3 separate regions of the Homo sapiens genome follow, and all the other regions are linked to region 3. The links are contacts of gene promoters, found by promoter capture Hi-C in blood cells and fetal thymus (Javierre and others, 2016). All regions are on one chromosome and are shown on one strand. The core of a region is centred on a gene start or on the middle of the fragment in contact, and the rest is flanking DNA. Distances in the headings are between cores, read along the strand shown. Region 1 has its middle 71 kb from the start of MMADHC-DT. Region 2 has its middle 100 kb from the start of MMADHC-DT. Region 3 holds the start of LYPD6B (LY6/PLAUR domain containing 6B).

Region 1 (3,484 bases), core at 852-3,351, 480 kb after region 3:
TGAAATTGCATTGAATGGCTTCTGTGTTGCTCGTGAAATGTGAGGTGTGAGTGACAGTTGAGAGGAAGGGTTAAGGGAGAGGTGTGGGAGTTTGAGGAAAGAGGAGAACGTATAATATTACTATCTCAGGGGTATTCAAAATGCACATCAGTATATATATACTGAGACCGAGTATATATATTTTGAGACTGAGTCTCTCGCTCTGTTGCCCAGGCTGGCATGATCTTGGCTCACCACAATCTCCATCTCCTGGGCAACAGAGCGATTCTCCTGCCTCAGCCTCCTGAGTAGCTGGGACGACAGGCACATGCCCGGTTAATGTTTATATTTTTAGTAGTGACAGGGTTTCACTATGTTGGCCAGGCTGGTCTCGAACTCCTGACCTTGTGATCTGCCTGCCTCAGCCTCCCAAAGTGCTGGGATTACAGGCGTGAGCCACCGCTCCCGGCCTGCACATCAGTAGCTTAAAGTCTCTGAGAAGCCCTATTTTGTGAAAAAGCCACCTACTTAAATTTATATACAAGCTGAGGAAGATTCACGTTTGATGGGTATCAAAGTTTATACAATCTGAAGGTCCTTTTTAAGAAAAAGAACACAGAATTATGAACACAAAATTCAGAACAGAGCCTTGGAAGGGACTTATGAAAACAAGAAGATTTAGCTTCCTTAGCTTTACCATAGACCCACTTGTATCTACATGTTACAATGCCTGTATTTGCTCACCCAAAGACTTTCCCCTCCTCATGCCTACTAATAACTCCCAGAACAGGCTTGATTCACAGCAATTTGGGATGTGCTGGCACAGACTGTTGCAGCTTTCCCTAACTTGTTTCCTTTCTTCCATTCTTCATCTAAAATGTAAATACATCATCCCACAGCGTTATTTTTCTAGACATGATTTTTCTAGGACACCAGCCTCATCCCCACAATCCATCTCTCTTCATGACTTAGGTTCCAACCTCTCTAGATGAGCGCCTTCCCCACTTATTAGACCACAACCCACAATAAGAAGTATGTTTTACATTATGACCCAATACTCATACATATCATTGAAAAAAATTTCACAAAACCAACCTTAACTTTTCTATGTGTGATGCACTCTAATTGTCTTGCTGATATACTCCATATACAAAAATAATCCTGGTAGGGCCACAGTAAAATAATTCTTACAGCCGGCAGGTTGAGAAACACTCCCTGGTCAGCATTGCACCCCTAATGCTTTTTTATGCTGCCATGCTTTGCTTTTGTGGCTCCCTCACTTTTGTGGATTGTCCTTTACCCCTGTTATGACTCTGCAAATCCTTTTCACCCCTCCAGTTTCAACTCATATTCTACCTTTTATATAAAGCCATCATCCGTTGAATCCTCTGTGCTCTCCAACATTTTGCATTCACATTGCTATGGGAAATATTTCATTCTGCTTTTGATTATAATTAATTATGTAAAATTCAGTCCTTTTTACTTCATTGTAAAGTCCTTGAGGGCAGGATCAGGTCATTTATAGACGTGGTCATTTCTATAAATCCTACAGCATCCAGCACCCAGTACCTTGCAAATTATTAAAGTAGGAAGAAATTAAAGTGGCTCACAAGGTTGTTGTGAGGATTCAATGAGATAATATATTTTAACAATAGTGGTATAACTAATATTTATGATAACTTGTTTTAAAATGAAGTAGCTGGCTTATGGTTGCACAAATAATAACTGGTGTTGCCAGGACTCAAGGCAAGCCCGATATTGGTAGCCACCACATTACTGTCTTATTCAAGTGCTTAGCCCATAGGAAGGATTCAGTAACTGGTAACTATTATTGTCACTTAACAAAAGGGTGTTGAATCAAAGCTGAATGAATGAATTAGACAGAGACTGTAGATTATGTATAATAGCCTTTGGGCCTAGGGATAATTCCATTCATCATTCTGCTATTAGTTTGCTATTTAGTCTGCTGTTTTATTTTTCTGTGTGAGTGGTTGTGACTATATGATTAAAAATCACCAGATGAGGAAAATGAATTTACTGTCTTCAGTAGTCTTAACGGCCACATCAGATTAACTGCAAGACTGATTCAACTATGAACAAATTAGACATTAAGATAGATGAAAAAAATCCAATTTGACCAAAAATAATTTTGAGACTGCATAGATAAAACTAATTTTCTTCCTTTGTGCACTTTAGTTCAATTCAGTCTTTCAAATATATGGTGTAAGGCACTGCAGGAAAATATATGGTGTAAGGCACTGCAAAAAAAAAAAAAAAAGCAATGTCTTTTGTTACCAAGGAATGTATAATCAAGTGTGAATATCTTGGGGGTGGGGGTAAAGGAATATGATGTCTATCTAAATAAACAACCTTAATAGAAGGCAGAGCAAGAGCTGTTTCACGAGGTTTCAATGAGCTCTGAGGCTCCAAGGAGGAATGAATTGTTTCTCCAATGAGGGAATTGTAGAGGGGAAAGGTATTAAAAAGTGGAATGGACAAATGTGATTCTGGTTCTCAAAATGAAGAAGCAGCATTTTTTCACTAAAGATCATTGGGAAGTGTATAGATTCCAAGTAAGATTCTAGTATTAATTATTAACAGGATGGCGGTGAGAAAGGAATCTGGTGATCACAAATATTGAAAAAGTCTGCTGTGAAGAATTGTTACCAATCCTATTGACACTATTCGACAAGATAGAGAAAGAGGGAACCCTCCCTAAGTCATTCTATAAAGCCATTATCACCCTAATACCAAAACCAGGAAAGGACATAACCAAAAAAGGAAACTATAGACAGATATTGCTGGTGAACATAGATGCTAAAATGCTTAACAAAATACTAACTAACCGAATCCAACAATATGTCAAAAAGATAATCTACCATGATCAACTGGGGTTCATACAAGGGTTGCAGAGATGGTTTAACATATGCAAGTCAACAAATGTGATACACCACATAAACATAATTAAAAACAAAAATCACATGATCATCTGAATAGATGCAGAAAAAGCATTCAACAAAATCCAGCATCGCTTTATGATAAAAACTCTAAGCAAAATCAGCATACAAGGGACATACCTCAATGTAATAAAAGCCACCTATGACAAACCCACAGCCAACATAATACTGAATGGGAAAAAGTTGAAAGCATTCCCTCTGAGAACTGGAACAAGACAAGGATGCCCAATCTTACCACTCCTCTTCAACATAGTACTGGAAGTCCTAGCCAGAGCAATCAGACAAGAGAAAAAAATAAAGGACATCCAAATCTGTAAAAAGTAAGTCAAACTGTCACTGCTTGCAGATAATATTATTGTTTAACTCAAAAACCTTAAAGACTCCTCCAGAAAGCTCTTAGAACTGATAAAAGAATTCAGCAAAGTTTCCAGATACAATACTGATGTAAACAAATCAGTAGCTCTTCTATACACCAACAGCGACCAAGCGCAGAATCAAATCAAGAACTCATAGCCTTTCACAATAGCTGAAAAAGAAAATACTTAGGA
Region 2 (3,436 bases), core at 535-3,034, 450 kb after region 3:
GGAGAAAATTTTGTACTTCTGTAATAAAATGGTACATTGGTAGACTAAAGAAAAGCAAGTTTTTACTCAGCATGAAACTGAGTAGAGTAAGGCACTGGAAAAAGCATTAAGGTGAATCACAATTGCAACTTTCTTATCAATTTAGTACACCTGTTGAGGCTAAAGGGTTGCAGATAGAGCAAGGATTGCAGTTGAAAGGGAATTGCTTTCAGGCGTTTGGAGGACAGTGATGTGGAATGCTCTGTAAGTACTCATTGCCATGTTGCATTGCTGGTCCTGTGCCACATGCTTTCCTCTCTACCTGTGAGCCATTTAGGGATTGGAAACATTTTTTCTAAGCTGTCAGCATATGTGGACCTGGAATTCTCACTCTCCAGGTCATGAAACCTGCTCTGTTTGTCTGACGCTGAGCCAGTGACTTTGGATCCTGCCAGAGCCCAGCAGCTCATCCTGTATTAATAGCACGGCAAGTCTTATGGGGTAGAGTTTCCATATTTATAGGTTTTATCTTTTCAAAGCATTTTAAGATAATTTCATTCCCCTAATGGCCCTGTCAGAAAGGTGAGCTCAAAATTAGCCCCATTTGAAAGATGGGAACATTAAAACACAAAATGTACATGGGAAGCACAATATGGAGCCAGGTTCTGCAGGCAAAGACACTATGGCCTAAAGGAGCCACCTAATCCCGCCAGACCTCAGGGTCACCAACTGGTGAAGGAGTAGACATTGAATCAGGGGTTTTAAAACATTTCTGGCTGCCATTCATCCTAATAGTTTGTAGTGTGACTCAATGCACATATTTCTAATGTATATAAAAATGCAACTGAAATACATTTCACAAAAAGATATAGACCTTCACAGTATTCATTATTATATTACACTTGAATATTGTCTCTATTCCATTCTGTTCCAGTTTACTATTTTTTAAAAGTCTTAATTTCAACACACCAATATTGATTTCATGACTCCACTAATGGGTTAAAACTTATAGTTTGAAAAACAGTGAACTATGTGATTATTAATGATCCTTTCAATATTTATTTCCAGTTATATACCTGAAGTCAAGAAATCAGGAACTCAATACCTGGTCTAAAGACCATGCCCCCTCACTGCTCAGGTGTTTCGATAAGGTAATGATCTCTTCCTGAATTATGAGTTCCACATTCACTCTTGTACTAACTCAAGTGTAGTCCTATAATCTTTCTGCAGTTCATTCGAATGTTTTTTGATGTGTTGATTAATTGTCTCACAAATATTCCTGTTTGAAAAGACAAATCTAGGTTCGGATTCAAGCTTCGCTAGTTAAAACACTCTCCCTAATCTTCTTCAATCTTCTGCTTGTAAAATGGGATAAATGAGCTTGTTGCGAGGGTCAGCCATCAGCAATGTAAGCCCATAGCATGTGCAGGTGCAGGCATGTGCGAGCATCAAATGAGCAGTCCTTTCTTGACGGGTGTGCTGGGCACTGTGCTGGCACTGGTGTGACAAAGACCATGACTTGGAATGCACCCCTAAGGGGCTCCGGTGCTTATCAGGCTCACCCTCTTTCTCTTTTTGTTTTGTAAACTGCCTTGAAAATTTACCAATATATCACATTTTTCTGTCAGCAAGTAGAACTGTAGGAAATAATTTTTAATGGTTGGTTAGTATTACATTTTATGATTGCGCCATAATTTATTTCATCATTTCCTCTTTCTTATTTTTTAGGTGTTTCTAGTTTTTTACTTTGAAAATCTTTTTATATAAAAGTAATGCATGAGCATTGAAATTTGAAATTGTTCTGTAGAAAAGTAAAACCATTCTCCCTTTCCACTCCATCTCTTCCCATTCTTCAGCAATAACTGCTATTAATAATTTCTTGAGTATACTTTTTAAATATTTTCTAATGCATATACAATTTTGCATGTATTTATATAATTATGTGAATGAATTCATATATACATGTAGAAAACAAGATCTGCAATATGCCTTTTAAAATTAGTACATATGGAACATCTTTTGCTGCTAGCACATGTAGATTCATTTTGTTTTCTAAGTGGCTGTATGTATTCCATTGTATAGATGGGCCATAATTTATTTAACTCATCCCCTACTTACTCAAATTCAGTGTGTTCTAAAAGTTGTGTCTAGATTTTGCTATTATAAACAATTATGCCATAAACATCTGTGCACCCTCTAGAGGTAACTGTGGGATAACTAATAGAAATGGAATTATTTTATGCGTTTATAGCTGTGTTCTATGTTACCAAGTTACCCTCTTGAAAGAGGTGCCAATTTAAGCTTATACCAACAGTGTATGAGAATGTCTGTATCTGCAAAGCCTCTCTAAACTTGGTATCCCATCAATATTTTATCTTTGAGATCTCTTTTTTTCTCATTTGGAAATATTAACAAGAATGTTTATGTTAACTCAGTGGAGAAAAGTCGGAGACATTTGGATAAGATGAGTTAATGCCCTTGCCCATTCTGGAATTATTTGGGAGGAAGGCTGCTCATGGGACAAGTCATTTTACCTTCCAGGAGAGATTCAACACTGGCCATTGACTATATGTGCAGCACACACTTCTTCTGAAGGCTTGAGGCATCTACCGTGTGACAGATCATGAATCAAATGACCTGCAAGCTTAGAGAGCCTTTCTCAGCCCTGCCACATGCAGCTATGTTGATGCTGATGTGACTGATTTTACTTCCTTCCCTTTATTCACCAACAGAGAGGTCGCTATCACACCACCAACTTCTGTTGCTTAGGTCCTGGCTTATGAAGAATAGACTCTGGGAGCACATTGGAAATCAACACTCTTGCCTTATGATGCAGGACAGATGCTGAAATTCTCTTAAGAGTAGCTTTATGATTATTTTCTTTGGAAACATGGATTAACTCACTTGCCATCTTCAGGCAGAAGAAAAACCTCATCCCCTCCCCACCCCACCCCATCCCTTTTAGATTCTGCAACTCTGTATTCTGAATTTTTGTTAAGAAAATCTACAAATTAGAAATATCATTTTAGGGACAATCAATATCAGGTTTCAATATAACAGCAACTGTTAAATAAGAGAAAATACCTACTTTCAAAGCCCGCATATCAATAAATAGTAATAATAAAGAAGTAGTAAAACTGGCTCAAGGAAACTAGCAGATTCAAATGAAAACTAGCAGATGATTCAAAACTAGCAGATTCAAATGACCAAATGTACACAGAAGCAGCAAGATTTCTATTGTTAAAATGTGACAAGGGACCTCAGAAATAATTAAACCAAACATCCTCAGTTCATTTGATAGAGGAGAACATGGATACACAAAGAGGAGATATGACTTATCCCAGGTCACATAGTAAGTTAGAGGCACTGTCGTGACCTATGATAATAGCAAATAAGAATGGCATGTTGAATTCTCAACAGCGTGTACATTTGGTATTGAAAGGGAATTATTTTTATG
Region 3 (3,971 bases), core at 182-2,681:
AATAGTCATAAGAAGGAATGTTCTCCATACAACTTTAAAGTTGTACAGTGCTTTCTGCAGTGAAATGAATTTTTTCACGGAATGGATTTTTTTAACGAGTCTTGAAATTAACATGTGAGGAGCAGCATGACACATTACCTCGTGTGTGTGTGTGTGTGTGTGTGTGTGTGTGTGTGTGTGTGTGAGTGAAGGCCATTTGTTAAATGGAACACCTAAAAATACCATTGTTTTTGTTTTTGCGGTTGTCAGGGGCCTCAATAAATGCAAGCTGGCTCAGGAGATGCTTGACCTCAGAGGTCTGGAAAGACAGATTAGAAGTCTCAGCAGAGGACCAAACCCAGACCCCACTTCTGCAGAAGTTCTGTACCCAGGTTTCCCCACTGCAGGCATAACCAGCAGCCCCTCAAAGGCCCCAGACCAGCCAACTGTCTTTAGAAATGCAGACCCAGGATCAGCTTTGCTACCAGCCATGGAATCTTGGGTCAGTGGCCCATACTCTGAGCTGTGTTTCCACAGTGCAAGGCTGGCCGGACAGTGTTTTATTTCAGAGTTCTCCTGTCTGTGGCATCTTCAGAAGTTAAAGATTTGCTTGACCACTATAAGGTGCCCTGGGAGTGTAGACCTCCCACATCCCAGCTGCCTGGCTGGCAGTGGGTGGGGAGTAAGCAGTAGAGAGAGGACAGGTGGCCCGGAATCTAACAGCTTGCCTCTGGATTCTCCCTAGTAAGCTTGGAATGATGCTGGAGCAGCTCTGGGCCGAGGGGACCAGTCTAACGCTGGACGCAAAAGACTGGGCGCCACCTAGTCTGTTCATCAGGTATTAAATGCCCTGAGTTTTCAAAGCTCTGGTGATTCAGTAGTGGACGGGTAAGGTTCCTGCCTCTCCTGGGGCTTACCGTCCAGGGGTGGGGAGGACGTCACTATATGAAATTATCTTATTTATAGCTTAATGTCATTATTTAAAAAGGGGGAGGGAATCACTTGACGGGTGGGCAAGGTGGGGACGGGGTTGGATGGAATGGTCAAAAAAGGTCTTTCAGAGTTCTTCCAATCCTGAACTAACTCACCTGCACCCTTGGCCCAATCATTTTCACTCCCGAGGGTCTGCACTCCTCGTTTCTACATTGGTTTTCTAGGAAGAAAGGGGTTGGACCCTCCCCTCTTTAAGCTGGGTGGGGTCCGAATCCCGTGCTTCTTTCACTTCCTGAGCCGGGCTGGCTGGGTGGGAACAGGCTCCTTGCCGCCTCCCCAGCGCTGGCCACTACCACACTGCCGCCCGCCTGGGCCTCCTTTCAACCTCGTGGTGGAGCCCTGCGGTTTCCCAGCGGAGCCGGGCCCGGGGCTGCTCCCTCGCGGGCGAGGCTCACCTGTCCCGGCCCGGCCCCCTCCCGCGCCCCAGGTGGTTCAGGGCAGGGAGGAGCCGCGCCCCGCCCCGCGCGGTAGCAGCCAACGCCGGCCCCAGGCGGGTGCGCTGGGAGCCTGGGCCGGGAGCCGGGTGAGGGCGCCGAGAGGCTCGGTGGGCGCGGGCGGCGAGGTGAGCTGGGCCAGCGCAGCAGGCGGGGGCGGTGGTGGGTTCGGGACGGCTCACCCCGCGCCGGAGCGAGTGCGGGGCCGCGCGACTGCGGCGGGAGATGCGCTGCGCCCCTTCTGGGCGCGCTGGGGCAGCCAGGAGCTCGCGGGGCCGCGGGGCCGCGGGGCCGCGGGGCCGCGGCGCAGTGGCGGGGTCGGGGTCTGGTCGCTGCCTCGAGGCGAGCAGCTGCCAACATCTGGACGGGACGGGAGCAGGGGGCCGGGGCAAGGCTGGAGCGGTGTGGGTCTCTAATCGTCCAGAGCCCTGCGGGGCCAGTGACTTCGGCAGAGCCGAGGGGAGAGGAGATACTGGGGGTCAAACTGCTGGAGAGAGCGCGGAGCTGGGGCTGGGGTTCAAGGCCGATCGTGGGGCCAAGAGCGAGCGTGCCAGCTCCAGTGTTTCCCCCTGCAGCGCTTCACGCGCGACCAGCTTGGGTGCCGCCGCTTCCCTTGCCCCGGCTCTTTACTTTTGTTGTTGAATAACCTACCTTACACATTGGTTAGTTACCTGGGGCTTCTCAAAAGCCGGGTCTGGAGGCTGCTCTGACTCCAGGGGGCTTGGGTTGTGAGGCTTCAGGTCTGTATGCCCTGTGGCGTTTGGGGGGAGCTGGTGGGTGGAGGGGTGCTGTCCACCTCCCAAGGCCAGGGGATCAGAGAGTGGGAAAAGTCTAGAATGCTATTTAAATTCCAGTAACTAGCTGTGTGACCTTGGGCAAGTTACTGAACTGCTCTGAGCCTCAGTTCCCTTAAAGTAAAATAGGTATTATTAATATTATAATCATTACAACAGACTTAGGTTATATGATGTTCATGGAGTACATAGCATACTGCTTGATTTTTCCCCCTTTGTGTTGATGTGGTGATGTGTGTGTTGTGGGGTGGGGGCATTCTTTCCCACCCTGACTTGTTCATGGTTAGGCTTCCTCCAGGATGCCTTACTTGCTGACAGCATCACAGAGGCCAAGATTAGGGCTGCCAGTGCACGGGCCCTGCAGATGGAGGGGGTGTTGTCAGACTGCCCTCATCATTACCCATCGTATTTGTCAGAATTGTTTTCTTTGGGTTGGGTTTTGGTCACTTGAAAATTGCCTTATACTATGTAGAAATTGATTGGGTCACATAAATGAAAAGGTCGAGGGTTTCAGTTTAAAGCTATAGCTAGTTCCAGAGGCTCATACAAGGTTCCAGGGCTAGTTCTCTCTCTTGTATATCTTAGCTGTTTTTCTCTCTGTGTTTACTGGTTCTTAGTATGGACGATAAATAGGACTTGCACCTTCAGGCTTATCTGCTCCTTCAGAGAGAGAGACAGAGACAAAGAGGGAGAGAGAGAATCCCATCTTCTCTATCCGTATAGCAGTCTCTCTCTGTCTCTCTCTCTCTCTCTCTTTTTTTTTTTTTCTTTTGAGACAGACTCTCACTCTGTCACCCAGGCTGGAGTGCAGTGGTGTGATCTCGGCTCACTGCATGCAACCTCCACCTCCCAGGTCCAAGCGATTATCCTGCCTCAGCCTCCCAAGTAGCTGGAGTTACAGGCGCCGGCCACCACGTGGGACTAATTTTTGTATTTTTAGTGGAGATGAGGTTTCACCATGTTGGCCAGGCTGGTCTCGAACTCCTAACCTCAAGTGATCTGCCCGTCTTGGCCTCCCAAAGTGCTGGGATTATAGGAGTGAGCCACTGCACCCGGCCCCTTATAGCAATCTTATTGACATACTGGACCAAAACAGAACCAAGCCATCTCAGCAGACAGGGAGAGGTTTACACAACAGGAATGGGCACATGACCGACTGTGATTGATAGACTGGCCCACCTCTGCTGCAAGGCATGTCGGTAGGGGGCGCAATTCCCAATGAGAAGTCTGACAAAACAGGACATGTTCATTTTACTATCTCTGTCTTTGCTCACCAGCGCCTAAAGGTAGTCTGCAGTAGAATGTAGACAGCCTGAGGGCCGTATTCCATCAGTCAAGTCTTCATCTAATGCATGGAGGGCATCCTGTGTGTCCATCTTTTCATTCATTGTTTTTTGTTTATTCATTCATTCGACATATAATAAATGCTCAACATATGCCAGGGCCTCTGCCAAGGGCGAAAATGCTTGCTTTTGAGAAGCTCACAGTCTAGTTGGAAAGACAGATATGAGGATAACATCGTCTAGGACTCATCTGTCTGGGGACGTAGTGAAGACTCCCCAAAGAAACTGTAGTTGAGCTTTGAATTGAAAATGAGCTCCAGCCTGGGCAGCAGAGCAAGACTCCGTCTCAAAAAAAAAAAAAAAAAAAAGAAAATGAGAAGGGCTGGTCTAGGAGAAAAATTCTAGGCCATGTGGTAGGATTCCAGAGGGACACTTTTTGTTGTAATATGTTTAGGTTACTCTACTTTCTTGCTTAGAACATCTGAAGG

The links. Contacts are between HindIII fragments. The CHiCAGO score rates a contact against its expected background, and 5 or more counts as called.
Region 1: a contact is called between a fragment that was not itself captured here and the fragment with the promoter of LYPD6B in region 3, in 1 of 17 cell types (naive CD8 T cells). The highest score is 5.4, in naive CD8 T cells.
Region 2: a contact is called between a fragment that was not itself captured here and the fragment with the promoter of LYPD6B in region 3, in 1 of 17 cell types (endothelial precursors). The highest score is 5.3, in endothelial precursors.

Annotation. Positions count from the first base shown.
Region 1 is chr2:149,514,864-149,518,347 of GRCh38, forward strand. No RefSeq gene overlaps it. Among named protein-coding and RNA genes, the nearest start is that of MMADHC-DT, 71 kb to the right of the region's middle. The HindIII fragment of the contact is 8,367 bases long and covers 1-3,484 here.
Region 2 is chr2:149,485,216-149,488,651 of GRCh38, forward strand. It overlaps a transcript of LYPD6 not described here. Among named protein-coding and RNA genes, the nearest start is that of MMADHC-DT, 100 kb to the right of the region's middle. The HindIII fragment of the contact is 987 bases long and covers 1,292-2,278 here.
Region 3 is chr2:149,037,268-149,041,238 of GRCh38, forward strand. It overlaps LYPD6B (LY6/PLAUR domain containing 6B), which reads left to right and starts at 1,432. Exons shown (of 7, transcript NM_177964.5): 1 at 1,432-1,534. RefSeq lists enhancers at 502-561, 1,775-1,824, 1,865-1,924 and silencers at 1,185-1,524, 1,535-1,694. The HindIII fragment of the contact is 3,848 bases long and covers 727-3,971 here.